Linked DNA regions of Homo sapiens: regions 2 and 3 are each linked to region 1. The links are contacts of gene promoters, found by promoter capture Hi-C in blood cells and fetal thymus (Javierre and others, 2016). All regions are on one chromosome and are shown on one strand. Each heading gives the region's core, a stretch centred on a gene start or on the middle of the fragment in contact. The rest is flanking DNA. Distances are from core to core; before and after follow the strand shown.

Evidence for each region. The method cuts DNA at HindIII sites, captures the fragments that hold promoters and counts their contacts. A CHiCAGO score of 5 or more calls a contact.
Region 2: a fragment that was not itself captured here is called in contact with the fragment with the promoter of HGFAC in region 1 in 3 of 17 cell types (total CD8 T cells, fetal thymus and naive CD4 T cells); the score reaches 6.6 in total CD8 T cells.
Region 3: a fragment that was not itself captured here is called in contact with the fragment with the promoter of HGFAC in region 1 in 1 of 17 cell types (naive CD4 T cells); the score reaches 6.1 in naive CD4 T cells.

What each region holds. Positions count from the first base shown.
Region 1 is chr4:3,440,572-3,443,295 of GRCh38, reverse strand. It overlaps HGFAC (HGF activator), which reads right to left and starts at 1,328. Exons shown (of 14, transcript NM_001528.4): 1 at 1,178-1,328; 2 at 384-564; 3 at 150-246. The coding sequence starts at 1,294. The HindIII fragment of the contact is 2,021 bases long and covers 808-2,724 here.
Region 2 is chr4:3,122,174-3,124,897 of GRCh38, reverse strand. It overlaps HTT (huntingtin), which reads right to left. Exons shown (of 67, transcript NM_001388492.1): 10 at 1,962-2,009. Among named protein-coding and RNA genes, the nearest start is that of HTT, 49 kb to the right of the region's middle. The HindIII fragment of the contact is 4,628 bases long and covers 1-2,724 here.
Region 3 is chr4:3,165,555-3,168,278 of GRCh38, reverse strand. All of the region lies in intron 29 of HTT (huntingtin), which reads right to left. Among named protein-coding and RNA genes, the nearest start is that of MSANTD1, 82 kb to the left of the region's middle. The HindIII fragment of the contact is 2,345 bases long and covers 222-2,566 here.

The DNA.
Region 1 (2,724 bases), core at 79-2,578:
CCCACCCCACCCCACCACCCTGGAGGGTCTCTGGGTTCACTGGGTCCGCCTGCTGCGTGGTGAGCGCCTACTGTGTGCCCGGCTCCCAGAAAAGCAGGCAGCGTGGGGCAGGTGACCCCAGCTCGGGTGCCCCGGCTGCCCGGACCCACCACTTCCTGTGTGCACTGCCCTCCGAAGTGCAGGCATGCAGCATGCGGCCCCCGTAGCGGAAGGGGAACCTGCAGGGCCTCCCGTCCTCGGTGAGTGCTGTGGGGAGGGGGTGGCAGGGTCAGGGCTCCCTCGAGGGGCACCCGAGCCCCTCAGGACCTCCAGCCGCAGCCATGCTCCTCCCACCCAGCCCTAAGGTGAAGCACGACACCTCCTCCCAGGCCCACCTGACCCACCTTGGGCCTGGGGGCTACTGCTCGAGGGAACTGCCCTGGGCGGGGGCGGGAGCCCCCCACTTTGGGGTCCCTCTGCCTCTGGAGCACTTGTTGCTGGGGTCTCAGAGGTCACAGAGGTCACCAGGATAGTGGGGATCGCAGGGGTCGCTGTGGCATTAGGTTCTGGGGACTCCGTACGGTTCTAGGAGGAGCAGAAAGGGTGTCAGTGTGGGACAGACCCTCACACTCAGGTCCTGCCGGGCAGGAGGTCACAGCCCTGAGCCTGTTTCCATACTGGGGCCCCCAGATCTCGGAGCAGGTTCCAGGAGGACACACGACATTCCTGAGGCCTCAGCCAGGCCCTGACACCTTCCCCGCCCTCGGCCCCTAGTTAACACCTGCTCAGGGTCACTGCCCAGGCCCAGGCACTGCTACCCACCAAGCTTAAACCCTGACGTCAGTTTTTGGTGATGGGAGCAGCTAGGAGGCCCTGGGAGGTTCCCCCAACCTCACGCATCCAGACCCAACAGAGGTCCAGAGAGAGGGGGCAGCCCCCAGACCCATAGGGGCCCAGGCCAGGCCGCACAGGGATGACAGCCCCCAGGTGGGGCTCCGTGAGCCCAGGCCCCAGCCTCCAAGGCCAGTCCAGCACCCACCTGCCCTGTGAGGGCCAGCTTTCAACGTAAGCCCCCTGCTCGGACCCCCGCCCCCTCAAATCCCCACGCTCTGTGGCGACCCTCCCTCTGGCCTCCTCCCAAGGACCCCAAGTAGCCACTGGGAACCTCTGGTCGCACTGCGACAAGGTCAGTGCTCACCCCGCCAGGCTGGGGCTGGAACCCCCGTGGCAGCAGCAGCAGCAGCAGGAGGAGGAGGAGGAAGGGGCCCAGCCCCGGTGGGGGCCAGGGGCTGGGGACCCAGGCCCAGCGCCCCATGGCTCCTGAGCTGGCCTGAGGGGCAGTGGGAGGCGGGAGCAGAGCGGCCAAGGCAGGTGGGGTCAAGGCTTCGTGGAAATGATTAACCCTGGCTGCCTCCCACGTCAGGCGGGCCCAGCCGGAGAGGAAGTCCCCGAGTCCCCTGGCCCCCACACCTGCTGCCCACCTCACTTTGACCCTACCTGGAAGCCCAGCTGTCTCTCTGGCCTCGGCCTGCACTGGTCCTAGTCCTAGACCTGACATGGTCCTTGGGCCTCAGCTTAGAAGCCTCCTCCAGGAAGTCTTCCAGGATAATGCAGATAGGTTGGGGCCTAGATGGTCTGGCGCCGCTCCCAGTCCCTGCAGGCCACAGAGCTGGCCACCATCTGCCTGTGAATTGTCCATGATGAGAGCCACTACGGGCGCTGGGCCTTGGAGGTGTCCAGCTCTGTGCCCAGCACAGCACAGACAGTAGCAGTGGGGATGGGATTGTCCCTGTCCCACAGACGGCAGCACTGGGGGCTCCTGGAGGGTTCGGTGCTGCATCCTCTCGGTGGCCCCAGGGCTGGCCAAAAGGCCAGGCACAGGGAGGAGAGGGGCCACGCAATGGCTGAGTGTAGCATAGGATGACCTGAGATCCTGCCCCACCTGCCTGTTCTGACTCTGGGGGTGGCCAGGGCCCCCCAGCAGCCCCTGGTGATGTTCAGAGTGTCCCTTCCTCCCCGTCTCCCAGACAGACCCAGGAGTCCACTCCAAGAAGCCTTTCCAACCCCAGCTCCCCACCGCCGCCTGGATGGTACAGGCCAAGTCTGCGGCAGCACAACCCTGGGCCAGGTACCCTGGGGCCTGGGATGGAGCTGGAGTCACGGAATTCGTGACTTGGGGCTGTGGGCAGAGCTGCCTGAGGAACCTCTTCTGCAATATTGGAGCAGCCGCTACGGCACCTCGGGTTCCTCCTGAGTCAGCAGCGACATCCCAGGGCTGCCGAGGTGGGAGGAGGGGTGAGTGAACCACTGTGGCCTGGAGACCAGCGAGGGCTGAAGCTGCCTCCCTGTATCCCCTAAAACCCCTCTCTCTGCCCCCCATTTGCCTGTCTGTGCAGAGGGAGAGAGAATGGACACCCACTGACCACCCAGCTTGACACCGTGGGCCCCAGGGGGCACAGTGCACATGGAGGCGTGGTGGGCCCTGGGGGCACGGTGAATGGGGGGTTGGGGGTTGGGGGGGAGGTCATGGTGGGCCCTGGGGCACGGTGAATGGGGGGTTGGGGGTTGGGGGGGAGGTCATGGTGGGCCCTGGGGGCACGGTGAATGTGGAGGCATGGTGGGTGCTGGGGGCACGGTGAATGGGGGGTTGGGGGTTGGGGGGGAGGTCATGGTGGGCCCTGGGGGCACGGTGAATGTGGAGGCATGGTGGGTGCTGGGAGCAGGATGGATGCGGGCTTGTGGTGG
Region 2 (2,724 bases), core at 164-2,663, 320 kb after region 1:
TGTGAGTGTCATTAAATGACACTATCAAAATAATTATTGGGAATTTCTAATTTCTGCTCTTCAAAGAAAAAGTCAGAAGTATGATAACTTCCATAAACTTACAATGATGTGAGATTAAGAGTGAAAAAATGAGCAAAGGAAACCCAAAATCTACATGGAATTAACACAGCAACTTGGCCTATCTACTAAATAATAGGAAACTTTATTACAAAATAAGTTCTTTACCTTGAGAAATCAAATAAAATGCCAAAAAGGTGAATTCAGATCTTAACAAAAGCCATCTCTATCTTCCAAATCAGTGGTTTGCAAATATGTTCCACAGAGCCGTCCCCAGGGTAATTTCCTCAAAGGCACAAGAGCTAGGCTGCCACCAGAAGAGAGGCTCCAGGACACCCCCACTACTTTCACCCTAATCCTATATCCAACACAACTCTACCTTCATCTGTCTTATAATTTGGGCAGATTTCACTTAAAAAGGATTTTCCAGCTATAACAGAAGAGTTTGAAGACACAGCTCTCAATGGGGGAAAAATACCAAAAAGGCTTAAAAGAGACAGGATATATCCCATGTCCCAGCCAGAAGAGGATAAACTCATCTGAGCAATGTGAATCAGTCATCTTCGTTCTCACCGCCACTGGAAAAAGCGACTAAGAAACAAACAAGTGTCAGCGTAACTTAGTCACACGTCCCAAAATCTCTCCTAATTCAAGAATATAGACATTAATTTTTCCTAGAATCCTTTTGGCTTCTAAACAATGTTTCACTAAAATCTCAAACTTGATTAAGTATCTCATACTATGATGACGCAAATATTATAGATTCCAAGTTCTCTTAAGAAATGTTTACTTAATTCAATGAAGGCTAGAATGCTATTCCTGTTAAGATCCCATTTAATACTGCAAATAATATTAGGCATTAGGCTCTCAATTAAATACTCAAATCATGACACAAAAAAGGATCAGTCTTTTAAGATTTCAAAATAGAAAGTGACAGCAATTCTTTTCCTATGCAAACCCACACTGGAAAAGAAAATAACTGGCATTGCAAAAGATAATGTGTACCAAAACTAGCAGATTATATCACAAACACTTTAATAAAAGTTAAGTTTTATCAGAACATTCTGATATGTACAAAGTTAAATATGGCTGAAAAATGATAACCAGGTCCAAATTAAAATAACCCAACAAAGGAAACTTTTTTTTTTTAAGACACAAGGTCTCATTCTGTTGCCTAGGCTGGAGTGCAGTGGCATGACTACAGCTCACTGTGACCTCAAACTCCTGGGCTCAAACAATCCTCTTGCCTCAGCCCCCTGAGCAGCAGCTGAGGCTACAGGCACATGCCACATGCGTGGCTGTTTTTTTGTTTTGTTTTGTTTTGGTAGAGACCGGGTCTCACTATGTTGACCAGGCTGGAAAAGAAGCTACTTAATAATATTCCTGACTAATACTAAATAAAATTTACTGAGAAGGTAACTCACAAAATATAACAACACATTCCCTAAGGCAGGTATTGGCAAACTACAGCCTGTCTGTTTCTGTAAGTAAAGTTCTACTGGAACATAGCTGGCCAGTAGCTCATGTCTTTACAACTGCATTCCTGTCACAGGGCAGAGCTGAATGTTGCAAAAGAGACCATATGGCCCATAAAGCTAAGATGTTTACACTCTGTCCCTTTACAAAAAAAGTCTGCTGACCCCGAACATTAGAAATTTATGATGCGTTCAAAATTTATGACAAAGCAATTCTGATATGAAAGTAATTTTTAAAAGCCACCCTACAAAACTATTCAGGCCTGGTTATCAGATTCCAGCAACATTCACACATATAATCACTCATCTGAGAAGAGATATACACAGAGTCCAATACAGTATTACAAGAAATACAAGATACATTACATTACAGAAATACAAGAAAATCAGTAAGATTCAACACAAGACTCTGATTTCTGAAATAATCACCTTTTTGTTTTCTTGAAAGGACAGGGCTGCATGAGGAACCCCCTCCAGCTGCAAATCACAGAAAGTGACAGATAAAGTAACAAGCTGATAAAATCTAGAAGAAATGTGAAAATCTTCAAACAGCTTGATTCAACTTTAAAACTAGAGAAAATGTGAACGTTTTTCCACAGGAAACACTTAACATCGCAGTTCAACATTTTAATTTCAATATGAAAATTACATTAACATTCAAATATATAGTTCTAAAGATATGACCTAAGAAATCAAAAAAGCTAAGATAAATTGCATTGTAAAAGCCAAATTAAAAGTATTAGAAATCTCAGATTATTTAGCTGACTAACAGTCAAGTATAACTTTTCATTAGCGATGGGTATTTCCACTCATTATTTGTAAGGCACGCATTCCATACAGAAAAAAATTCTTCCGTGTAAAGGACAGGAAACAAGGCAGATTAACATTTCCTGCTCATGGTTCTGGCAAACATTTATGTTCACACGAGGCAGCAGTAAGACTTCAGTCAGATTCTCTCTAATGTGGAGGCTGTGAGTAAGGCCACGCTGCACACACACTGTGCACTACACCGACCACGTTGCAGTGGCTTAGGAGAGGCCGGAGTCAGCAGAAGTTTATCCATAGCCTGCTAGGCACCAGACCCAGTGGTAGAGGCTGGGATCCAGCTCCCAAAGGCAGCTCTCATGCCAGACAGGACCCACCAAGCTCACTGCTCCAGGGCAGCACTGCATGGTGGGGTAGGGCCCAGCCC
Region 3 (2,724 bases), core at 145-2,644, 280 kb after region 1:
AGGGGCTCTGATGCCTTCACCTAAGCAAGGTCACAGATAAGGCTCAATAGTTTGTATATCTCAAGCCTGGCCTGACAATCTAAGCATCTGGATATCTTTCCAGCTGCCTCAGAACTGCTGTGTGGCAGAAAGAGATCTGAAACCTTGCCATGCTGTGAGTCAGTGAGGGAGATTCCTCAAAACAGTCAGGGGCCAAGTGCAAACAAGAACCTGTGAAAGCTTCTACCCTACATATCCCCCTCTAAAAGACCACGGATAAAAACTCAACAATTAAGCAGGTGAGGCTTCCAAAGTACAAACAAAAGGATATGCGAGAAAGCTAAAATGGGCCTCTGTCTTGAAACAGCAAAAAAGATGAACTTAGAAAAACAAAAAAGGAGAGGTGAGTAAATCTACCTTTAACTGTAAAGACACAGGCCAGAGAATAAGATGCTTAATTATCCAGTTATTCTTATGCCAAATGTAAAAATTTTCAGAGATGAGCTTATTATCTTTATGTACCTTTAAAAATATATACATACACACACAACCATATGGCTGATTTCAAGAATATAAAGATCAACTAACATCAATCTTCATTAAATTGTGACTTATTAATAATTTACTTTTATTATTTGGATAAGGCAGCATTTGATACATTCACTGACTGTAACTGAAAAACAGCCATTTCTATATATGACAGTCATAATAATAAGGTTAAAAAAAAACCCACATACAAAAAAGAAAATCTTACTATTTAAAGAATCCCAGTTAGATGATTTTTATTTCAGTATAATCTCACGTTCAAATTTAAAACATATAGTATTTTCCATTTTGCTAAAATGTGTTATACATGGAGACTGCTGGCCACTAAAAACTACTTATTAAGCACAGTGGTTTAGGGCAAAGAGAGGGAGATCTGAAAATATGGCTGGGCGTGGTGGCTGACACCTGTGATCCCAGCACTCTAGGAGGCTGAGGTGGGTGGATCACAAGGTCAGGAGTTCGAGACTAGCCTGGCCAATGTGGTGAAACCCCATCTCCACTAAAAATACAAAAAATTAGCCAGGCATGGTGGCAGGTGCCTGTAATCCCAGCTACTCCGGAGGCTGAGGTAGGAGAATCGCTTGAAACCAGGAGGCAAAGGTTGCAGTGGGCCGAGATTGTGCCGATGCACGTCAGCCTGGGCGACAGAGCAAGACTCCACCTCAAAAAACAAGGGATGCTTCCAAAATGGCCGAATAGGAACAGCTCCAGTCTACAGCTCCCAGTGAGATCGACACAGAAGACAGGTGATTTCTGCATTTCCAACTGAGGTACCTAGTTCATCTCACTGGGACTTGCTGGACAGTGGGTGCAGCCCACGGAGGGCAAGCCGAAGCAGGGCGGGGTGTTGCCTCACCTGGGAAGCACAAGGGGTCGGGGGACTTCCCTTTCCAAGCCAAAGGAAGCCATGAGTGACTGTACCTGAAGGAGCAGTACACTCCTGCCCAAATACTGCACTTTTCCCACAGTCTTCACAACCAGCAGACCAGGAGATTCTCTCCTGTGCCTGGCTCAGCGGGTCCCACGCCCATGGGGCCTTGCTCACTGCTAGCGCAGCACTCTGAAATCGACCTGGGATGCAGGAGCTTGGCTGGGGGAGGGGTGTCCACCACTGCTGAGGCTAGAGTAGGTGGTTCTATGCTCACAGTGTAAACAAAGCAGCAGGGAAGCTCGAACTGGGCAGAGCCCACTGCAGCTCAGCAAGGCCTACTGCCTCTCTAGATTCCACCTCTGGGGGAAGGGCACATCTGAACAAAAGGCAGCAGACAGCTTCTCCAGATTTAAACATACGTGCCTGACAGCTCTGAAGAGAGCAGTGGTTCTCCCGGTACGGCATTCAAGCTCCGATAATGAACAGACTGCCTCAAGTGGGTCCCTGACCCCCATGTAGCCTGACTGGGAGACACCTCCCAGTAGGGGCCAACAAACACCTCATACAGGCAGACACCTTCGTGCTCTGGGACGATGTTTCCAGAGGAAGGATCAGGCAGCAATATTTGCTGTTCTGCAGCCTCTGCTGGTGATGCCCAGGCAAACAGGGCCTGGAGTGGACCTCCAGCAAACTCCAACAGACCTGCAGCTGAGGGGCCTGTCTGTTAGAAGGAAAACTAACAAACAGAAAGGAATAGCATCAACATCAACAAAAAGGACACCCACACCAAAACCCCATCCGTAGGTCACCAACATCAAAGACCAAAGGTAGATAAAACCACAATGATGGGGAGAAACCATAGCAGAAAGGCTGAAAATTCCAAAAACCAGAACACCTCTTCTCCTCCAAAGGATCACAACTCCTCACCAGCAAGGGAACAAAACTGGATGGAGAATGAGTTTGATGAATTGACAGAAGTAGGCTTCAGAAGGTCGGTAATAACAAACTTCTCCGAGCTAAAGGAGCATGTTCTAACCCATCACAAGGAAGCTAAAAACCTTGAAAAAAATGTTAGACTAATGGCTAGAATAACCAGTGTAGAGAAGAGCTTAAATGACCTGATGGAGCTAAAAACCACAGAACGAGAATTTTGTGAAGTATACACAAGCTTCGACAGCCGATTCAATCAAGCAGAAGAAAGGATATCAGTGATTGAAGATCAAATTAATGAAATAAAGCGAGAAGACAAGATTAGAGAAAAAAGAGTGAAAAGAAATGAACCAAGCCTCCAAGAAATATGGGACTATGTGAAAAGACCAAATCTACGT